Regions from separate parts of the Homo sapiens genome. Here region 1 is linked to region 2. Evidence: promoter capture Hi-C in human tissues and cell types (Jung and others, 2019). All regions are on one chromosome and are shown on one strand. Each heading gives the region's core, a stretch centred on a gene start or on the middle of the fragment in contact. The rest is flanking DNA. Distances are from core to core; before and after follow the strand shown.

What was found. Contacts are between HindIII fragments. The study calls those that stand out against the background at their distance.
Region 1: a fragment that was not itself captured here is called in contact with the fragment with the promoter of PGF in region 2 in 2 of the 25 tissues and cell types used here (IMR-90 fibroblasts and liver).

What each region holds. Positions count from the first base shown.
Region 1 is chr14:74,987,170-74,991,949 of GRCh38, reverse strand. No RefSeq gene overlaps it. Among named protein-coding and RNA genes, the nearest start is that of EIF2B2, 13 kb to the left of the region's middle. The HindIII fragment of the contact is 5,864 bases long and covers 12-4,780 here.
Region 2 is chr14:74,952,775-74,957,623 of GRCh38, reverse strand. It overlaps PGF (placental growth factor), which reads left to right and starts at 2,027. Exons shown (of 7, transcript NM_002632.6): 1 at 2,027-2,456; 2 at 3,678-3,720. The coding sequence starts at 2,382. RefSeq lists silencers at 1,881-1,980, 2,161-2,230. The HindIII fragment of the contact is 10,779 bases long and covers 1-4,849 here.

The DNA.
Region 1 (4,780 bases), core at 1,694-4,193, 33 kb before region 2:
AAAGGTACCTCAGGTGCTTTATAGTTTCCATGTATCTTTGTGATTCTTCAAAACTGAAATGGAAATTATGATTGCGTATTTGTTATATAATTATTTTCAAAACAAAAGAATGTTATAGTACAGTCATACAATGGAATATCGATTTTTGGAATTTTGATATGGTAAATGCTTAACAATAAGGAGAACTGTTGATAACATATTGTCAGTTTTGTTTATTTTCTATTTTTATTTATTTATTTTTTTTTGAGATGGACTCTTGCTCTGTCACCAGGCTGGAGTGCAGTGGCACGATCTAGGCTCTAGGCTCACTGTAACCTCTGCCTCCTGGGTTCAAGCAATTCTCCTGCCTCAGCCTCCCGAGTAGCCGGGACTACAGGTGCGCACCACCACGCCCAGCTGATTTTTGTATTTTTCATAGAGATGAGGTTTCATCATGTTGGCCAGGATGGTCTCCATCTCTTGACCTCATGATCCGCCTGCCTTGGCCTCCCAAAGTGCTGGGATTACAGGCGTGAGCCACCACGCCCGGCCGTATTATCAGTTTTAAAAGGCGGATTGCACACAATCACTCTTGAAAATAGTTGGGCAGTCCCTTTCAAAACTAATAATGAACTTATAATACAACCCAGCAATTGTATTTTTGGTGATTTATCCCAGAGAAATGAAGAACGTCTACATAGGAACTTGCAGGTGAATGTTCATGGCAGCTTTATTCATAATAGCCAACAACTGGAAACTACCCAATGTCTTCCAACTGGTGAATGTTTACACAAACTGTACATCCATACCATGGAATACAGCTCGGTAATAGAAAGGAATGAAATATCGATATATCCAACAACTTAGACTAACCTCAAGGAAATTATGCTGAGTGAAAAAAACCCATCTCAAAAGTATAGGCCAAGAGTGGTGGCTCACGCCTGTAATCCCAGCACTTTGGCATGTTGGGACAGGCAGATCACTTGAGCCCAGGAGTTCAAGACCAGCCTGGGCAACATGACGAAACCCCGTTTCTACTAAAAATACAAAAAAAAAAATTAGCCAGGCATGGTGGCACATGCCTGTAATCCCAGCTACTCAGGAGGCTGAGGCACAAGAATCACTTGAACCCGGGAGGCAGAGGTCACAGTGAGCTGAGATCACGCCACTGTACTCCAGCCTGGGTAACAGAGCAAGACCCTGTCTCAAAAAAAAAAAAAAGTGTACATACTGCATAACTTTACTTATGTAACAATCATGAAATAACATAATTATAGAAATAAAGAATAGATTAGTGGCTTCCAGGAGTTACAGATGGGTGGGATGTGTGGCTACAAAGGAGTAACACTAGGAATCTTGTGATATTAATAGTACACTTGGGTTTCTTGATTGTGGTGGTGGTTATGCAAGACTACCTGTGATAAAATTGTGCATATACACACACACACACACACACACACACGGAATGCATGTATGAAATCTGAATAAGCTCTGTGGATTGTACCAATGTCATTTTCTTGGTTTTGACATTGTGTCATGGTTGTATAAAATGTTAGCATTGGAGTAGTCTGGGGGGAAGGATGCAAGAGAGAGAAGGATATACATTTATTTGCAACCTCCTGTGAATCTACAATTATTTCAAAATAAATAGTTAAACAAACAAAACCAGGATTTATGAAATAAAAACATCTATTTAAAAGAAAATTATAAAATTATAAAGCATTACATTTGGGGGATGGTCATTTTTTTTTAAGAGACAGGGTTACTGTGTCGCCCAGGCTGGGGTGCAGGGGTCCAATCATAGCTTACTGTAGCCTCAAACTGATCCTCCCCCTTCAGCCTCCCAAGTAGTGAGGACTACAGCTACAGGTGTGGGCCACCACATCTGGCTAATTTTTTTTTTTTTTTTTTTTTTTTTTTTTTTTTGTGCAGACAGGATCTTGCTATGTTCCCCAGGCTGGTCTTGATCTCCTGGCTTCAAGAGATCCTCCCATCTTGGCCTCCCAAAGCACGGGGATTACAAGCGTGAGCCACTGTGCCCAGTGAATTTTTAAAGTAACTCTAGCTGTAATTGTTAAATGACACAATGCTAAAATAGATCTTGAAAGAGGCTGTTTAAAGTCTCTCTCTATATGTATTTTTTTTAAGACAGAGTCTTGCTCTGTCACTCAGGCTGGAGTGCAGTGGTGCAATCTCGGCTCACTGCAACGTCCGCCTCCTGGGTTTAAGCAATTCTCTGCCTCAGCTTCCTGAGTAGCTGGGATTACAGGTGCTTGCCACCACGGCTGGCTAATTTTTGAATTTTTAGTAGAGACGGGGTTTCACCATCTTGGCCAGGCTGGTCTTGAACTCCTGACCTCGTGATCCACCCGCCTCGGCCTCCCAAAGTGCTGGGATTACAGGCATGAGCCACCGTGCCCGGCCTAAAGTCTATAATTTTTTTAAAGCAGGATGTAAAAATAGTATATTTGGTGGGACCTCAATTTCACTCTAAAAATATACTTTATTTGTATGTATTATATATATATAAATATACACAATACACATATTCTTACACATACATATATATGTATATAGGTGTGTGTGTGTGAAGTGTGTATAATGACATATACTATGACATTAACAGTGACTATCTCTGGATAGTACGATTACAGGTTTATCAGAGACAATTGCTCCCAAAGCCACTCTCCCCTCCTATAGTAATAGAGTTTTAGCTGGGAAAATAGCCACCCAGAATAGAAACTACATTTCCCAGTCTCCTTCACAGGTAGATGTGGCCATGTGCCTATGTTCTTACCAATGGGAAGGTGTGGAAGTATTAACATTTTGTTGCTGCTTTTGAGAACCTTCCCTAGGAGATAGCTGGGATGGGTCTTTGGCCTCTTCATGACTTTCTCTTTCTTGCTGCATTTCTGCTCTGCCAGCTTAGGTGATGAGGATACAGGTCCTACTGTAGGGATGGCAGAGGAGTGAGCCAGAAGGAGCCTGCACACTCTGAGGTCTCTGCGGAGTGGAGCTCCCATACCAGCCTGGAATATTCACCTCTGGGCTTCATACAGCTGAGAGCTAAATAAACTTCAGTCTTGTTTAACTTCCACAGTTATCTAGGAGTTTCCATCACTTGCAGTCACACCCAACTCTAATAAAATGCAAGAATGATTTTTATTTTTATTTGTGTACTGTTCTGTATTTTCCAAAATTTCTACAGTTAACATATGCCGTTCATAATGAGAAGTAAAAGTTATTTGTAAGAAACATAAGAAATCCATCAGGCCCATTCTTTCAGCCAGAAATATGATTATGTTGATCAAATCTTCCAGATTTTCCAGAAATGTCCCAATTCCAAACATTATGGCTGATTGTCTGCATAATTATCAAATAACAGTTTCCTGGACTTAATTTGGAGAATACGGTGATTATGATGATAATTCTGAACTGGGGGCAGCAAGGCTTACTAAAATGTTTGTGTCTTTATCCTTCTGTTCCAAAGAATCTCCTTTAGGCCATAGGATCACTTCCTTTTCCTGAAGGCCTTTGACTCAACACTTGGGCATGTGAATGCACTACTGTTTTTATCCTTCTCTGATTGTTTTGGTGGATAAGTCATGTCTCTATGCAACCTGAGAACAAGTGCTATTGTAGTAGACACCTGTTGTTTTTGTCTGCCCTGCACCCGCTTTCCGTTGGGAACTGCCCTTCCTCATCTCATGTGATTTGGGTGGAACTGTCAATCCCAGCACCTCCTCGTGCCCCAAGTGGCCCCTAACCACAGGCCTGGCCCCCCACACCTGGGACTGGTCCATCATCCAACTTCCACGCTGATTGGTCATGCAAAGCCATTCAGTCCTGTGATTTGCTATATGGACCCTGGAAGAAAGCAGGTTTCTGTCCTCATCTGCTGTAAAGAGGTTGGCTTTGGACTAGCGGTGGCTACCTTTCCTGCCTCATGGGGAGAGCTTGTCTAGTGTAGGAGAAAGTCAGCCAGCTGCTCCAGGAGAAGCAAGTAGAGCCCAGTCCTAGACAGAGGGAGAAAGAACAAATGAGCTGATGATTTGAGATGAGCTGATGATTTGAGATGAGCTGACATGGGCCCTTAGATCTAGCCATGGCTGAAGGTACAGCCACCCTTGGACTTCTCAACAAATTCCCCTTTGGCTTAACTTTTTGGGTTGCTAGAGCCTTGCCTAAGCTTCTTGTGTCCTCCCAGGAGCCCAAGCCTATTTTCAGTCAAGGGAGGAGTGTGTTATTTGGTTGCTTCTGCTAAACAAGAAATTAATCTTGCTCTAAATACAGATTTATATTTTGTGGCATCTGGCTCTGTTCTTGAGCTTCCCTGACACTTTATCATGATCAATTGCTAGGAATCGTTTTTTTTGTGTGTGTGTTTTTTTTGAGAAGGAGTCTCGATCTCGTCACCCAGGCTGGAGTGAAGTGGTGCAATCTCAGCTCACTGCAACCTCTGCCTCCTGGGTTCCAGTGATTCTCCTGGCTCAGCCTCTTGACTATCTGGGATTTACAGGCACGCGCCACCACGCCCGGCTAATTTTTGTATTTTTGGTAGAGATGGGGTTTCAACATGTTGGCCAGGCTGTTCTCAAACTCCTGACTTCAGGTGATTCACCCGCCTCGGCCTCCCAAAGTGCTAACATTACAGGCGTGAGCCACTGCGCCAGGCCAATTGCTAGGAATTTGAAGGGAAAGTCTAATGACAGACACAGGTAGTGGAACCCAGGGTACGTGATTAGAAAAAAAAAAACAATCTTACCCTATTGTTAGTAGGATTGTGTATTAATTGTTGCTC
Region 2 (4,849 bases), core at 778-3,277:
GGCCAACATGACAAAAACCTGTCTCTACTAAAAATACAAAAATTAGCCAGGCATGGTGGTGTACACCTGCAATCCCAGCTACTTGGGAGGCTGAGGCACAAGAATCGCTTGAACCCATGAGGCAGATGTTGCAGTGAGCCGAGATTGCGCCACTGTCTACCAGCCTAGGCGACAGAGCAAGACTCTGTCTCAGAAAAAAAAAAAAAAAATACAAACTCATACACAATAGACACATCCCATGCATAAGTGCTAGAAACACTCAGTTATAGACAAGCATATACAATGAAGATACTTAAGCACACGCGCACACACTTGTGCACAATACACACCTGTGCCCACATACACAAATCCATACCCAAACTAAAGACACACACAAACACGTGTATGTATACAAAGATGTTATGGGCAACATATACAATACATATATGCACAAACACACACCTACTCACCCTCACACACATGCACAGTGACCCTCCACAATGATTCTGGGCCCAGGAAGCAGTTTGTCTACCCCACGAACCCCAGCTTGTTTGAAGCTCGTCAGGATGTTCCTTGCAGACCCCGCTTAGCCAGCTGGTGACTGGCCCCCGCCTCCTGAACCTCCAGGCTTAGGGCCGGCCAGGCAGGCAGGCTGCATCTCTGGCAGCCCCTCGTGGGTGGGCAGGCAGGCAGGCAGTGGACGCAGAGGTCACTGGGGTGAGAGCTGGGGCTGCCCTGGCCTCCCTGCTCTTGGCTGGAATGTGAGCTGTAGGGGCCACTTCCCAGGCCTCGCTCCTCCCCCACAGCCACCCACCAGCCCCAGGCCCAGCCAACTCGTGACTCCCAGTCCTGCCAGGTTCCTGCAGCCTGGGAGCTGGACACAGAAGGCAGTGAGAGGAGTGGTGGTAAAGAAAGATCCAGAACCAAGGGAGGGCACACACAAACGCAGAGAGAGAGGCACAGTCTTCACCCACAGAGACAGACACACACACGCAGAGACAGGCAGGCGTGCAGACTCACAGTCCCACCGAAAGATACACATTCAGACACTTCCAAACACACCCAGATACACAGCGGACACGAACAGATCACACAAGCATACAGAGATACAGAGAGACCTGACCCCCACACAGAGGCGTATTTGGAGGTACAGTAGTCACACGTACTCAGACCACACAGAGGCTCAGATGCACCGCTCATGGATATTCACAGACCCGCAAATGCCCATGCACACGCGCAGATGCACACAGACCCCCGCGCAGCGTACAGTTCCTCCTCGGCCAGGGACCAGGAGGAGATGCCTGAGTGAGACCACTCTCTACCACAGGGGGCTGCCCCGCAGGGAGGGCCTGGGAAGACTGCTTCCCAAGGAGGCAACAGGCCTGATCCTCCAGCCAGGTGCCCTGAGAGGTTTCCTGTGGGAGGCCCACTGTGTCCGTGCCTGGCTAGGAGGGTGGTAGGTCGGGTTAGAGTTCTGGAGTCACGTAGGCTTGGGTTTTGTCTCTGCCAGTTCCTCGGACACACAGATGCGCGCACACACACAACACACACACACTTTCCAAGAATGCCTATGTCCATTCGACATATGCAGGCAGGGGTGCTCTCGGAGCCTCGGTTTCTTCATCTATATAACCTGGCTAGGAATCCCTTGGCCCCCTAGGGGTGTGGGCATGGCTGCCTTCCCAGGCATCCCGGACGGCCCTTCCTGCAGAGGCGGTTAGATCATGAGCCTTGACGGCTGACGCTGGACTCCTGGATGCCCCCATCCCAGGTGACCGCCCTGAGAGCCGAAGCAGGGCTGTGGGCCCTGTGGGCGGGCGCGGCGCGGCCCGGGGAGCTGCGGGCTGGGCTCGGCGAGGCGTCTGGACCTGCCGAGAGCCCCTCGCACGCACTGCGGGCTCCGGCGCTGCGGGCTGGCCGGGCGCTGCGGGCTGACCGGGCGCTCCGGGAACTCGGCTCGGGAACCTCGTCTGCGGTGGGCGGGGCCGGCCCGGAGCCCCGCCCCGGCTCAGTCCCTGAAACCCAGGCGCGGACCGGCTGCAGTCTCAGAAGGGAGCTGCTGTCTGCGGAGGAAACTGCATCGACGGACGGCCGCCCAGCTACGGGAGGACCTGGAGTGGCACTGGGCGCCCGACGGACCATCCCCGGGACCCGCCTGCCCCTCGGCGCCCCGCCCCGCCGGGCCGCTCCCCGTCGGGTTCCCCAGCCACAGCCTTACCTACGGGCTCCTGACTCCGCAAGGCTTCCAGAAGATGCTCGAACCACCGGCCGGGGCCTCGGGGCAGCAGTGAGGGAGGCGTCCAGCCCCCCACTCAGCTCTTCTCCTCCTGTGCCAGGGGCTCCCCGGGGGATGAGCATGGTGGTTTTCCCTCGGAGCCCCCTGGCTCGGGACGTCTGAGAAGATGCCGGTCATGAGGCTGTTCCCTTGCTTCCTGCAGCTCCTGGCCGGGCTGGCGCTGCCTGCTGTGCCCCCCCAGGTAAGAGCTACCCCCACCTAGCCTGGCTCCCCAGACCTCCCCATCCCAGCACTGGAAGCATGGGACTCTGAAATCACAGACCCACTCCAGGGAGCAGCAACTCCAAGGATGTCCACACACTTCCTAAAGGCCAGGCTGGACTTCTTTCGTTTGGGAAGAGACCTCAGGCTGGCTGTCCCCCAGGTCCTGGGGGCTGTCTTGGTGGGGGCAGGGAAGCCACAGGGAGGGAGGGAGGGAGGGAGGTTTCCTGTCTGGCCCCTGGAGCCCTGGTGGCTTTGCTAAAAGCATCTGTCCACTAATCCCAGGCGGGTCCCTGGCCTTGTGGTCAGGGTCGAGGCCCCATGGCCAACCAGGCGTCCCCAGGACCTCTGACCTGGCCTGGTGGGGGTGGCGGAGGAGCCAGCTGAAGAAGCTGTTGGTGGGGAGGCTGGCCCTGCCCCCACCAGGGCTCAGGACTGAGCCGTGGGCTCCTGGGTGGGCTGGGGACGAGACAAGGGGTCTCGCTGTGCCTTTTCTCCTGGGTGGGTGGCCGGAGGTCCTGAGTGCAGGGCCTGGGGAAGTGAGCAGGGCCCTTTTCCCAGGAGCCGGGTGAGTCTGGCTGGGAGCCAGCTTGGGCAGTGAAATCCTGACAAAGCCAATGAACTGCCTTCCCACTGCGTTGTCCCACTGCCCTGGGAGTCCCCAGCCCCAGCCCAAGAGTAGGAGTGGGCTGGGCAGTCCCTGAGGAGTCCGAGCAGCCCAGCCACCCGCCTGCCTGCTGCAGGGCTGGCCAGAGGTGTAACGTTACCGGCTGCACCAGCTCATGGCGCCACCCGCTCCAGCCCCTCAGCTCCCACCAGCTGATCACCTCCCCCTGGGCTCTGGCACCCAGCCAAGGCGGGCTGTGCAGGGCCCAGCAGGGTTGGCCTGGGGGCTGGGTAGAAGGCAGACCCGCAGGATTGGAAGATCTTTGGGATGCAGCAGGCCAAGGGTCTCCAAAAGCTTCTAGCCTCCCATCCTTTTCCAAATGAGGAAAACTGAGGCCAGAGAGGGGTGGGACCTAACCTACCCAGGGTCCAGTGAGTTTTTAGTGGTACTCAGGCTGCTCTGAGACAGGGCAGAGCATGTGCAGCAAGTGGGAAGGAACCCAGAGGGGCCCCTACCTTCTTGCCATCACACTTGGCCCAAGAGTGCAGAGCTCCAAGGTACCCCCAGCTCACCTCTGCACTTTTCTGTCCATAGCAGTGGGCCTTGTCTGCTGGGAACGGCTCGTCAGAGGTGGAAGGTAAGCTGGCCAGGCTGGGGGTACGCATGCTCCCCAAGCCCCTCTCTTCCTTTCTCCCAAGCCCAGGTGTGGCATGAAGCGTGGGTGCAGGTTGATAAAAGCTGGGGAGAGCCTACAAGCTAGACATGCTGGGTGATGACTTTGGCAGGGCCTAAGAGATCCCCTCATGGTGACCCAGAGACTAGAGAGGTGTGGGCTGGAGTCACCAGCACACGGAGAGTGGGGCTGGGGCCAGTATAGCCAGGGTTCATCCAGCTGGCTCAGAGCCCTTCCCCAGCATGATTTAAGGGTATGGATGGGGTCTTGGAGGACAGGGTGGGGAGTGAGTGCCAGGGGCCAGAATGGGGGTCTGGGAGCTGAATGCAGTGGGCAGTCAAGAGGATCAGGAATGGGTGAGGGGCCCTCCCCAGCAGCCCAGCCCTGGTGGAACTGCCGGGATCTGACCATGCGTTTCCATTGATTATAAACAGACAGAACATAGTCGCGCCCTCCCTGGCCCCTCCACTCCCCGCCCTGGTTGCATCAAGAGGGAGTCTTCAAAGGGCAACGAGACGTTTGCCAAAGAGACATATGTACAGAAGGCAGGAGGCCCATGCCAGGCCCCCTACCTCGCTCCTCCCTCCCTGCCTCTCCAAGACGTGCAAAGTGGCCACACACCACCGCTGAGGTTTCCCCTGCGCCATGGGAGAGTGGGCATGTAGGGACATGCACACGCACACGCGTGATAGCCATCTGCGTGCTGGGAACACCCTCTGCTGGGCTGCCTGCCTGGCAGCCCGCCTCTCCCGGGCCTGGCCATACTCTGACACCTAAGGCTTAGGCCCCTAGACCCCTGAGCAGGTAGAGGAGGTAGCTGCCCTTGACCTCATGGATGCCTCCCTTGCTGTGCCTCTGGAACCAGCACAACATTATGCTCCTTGGGATTTGGGGAAGGACCCATCCCCTACCTCCACACTATGCCCTTTTTGGTGCTTTTAGTGTAGGTCAGGCCACAGCTACCAAAGATGCCTTAGCCTCAGTTTTCTCATCTGTAAAATGGGAGCCTTGGCTACATGATGTCTATGGTTTCTTCTTTTTCCGAGATTGAAAAAGGGACTTGTCCTCTGACTCCAGGGAGGAGAAATGGGTG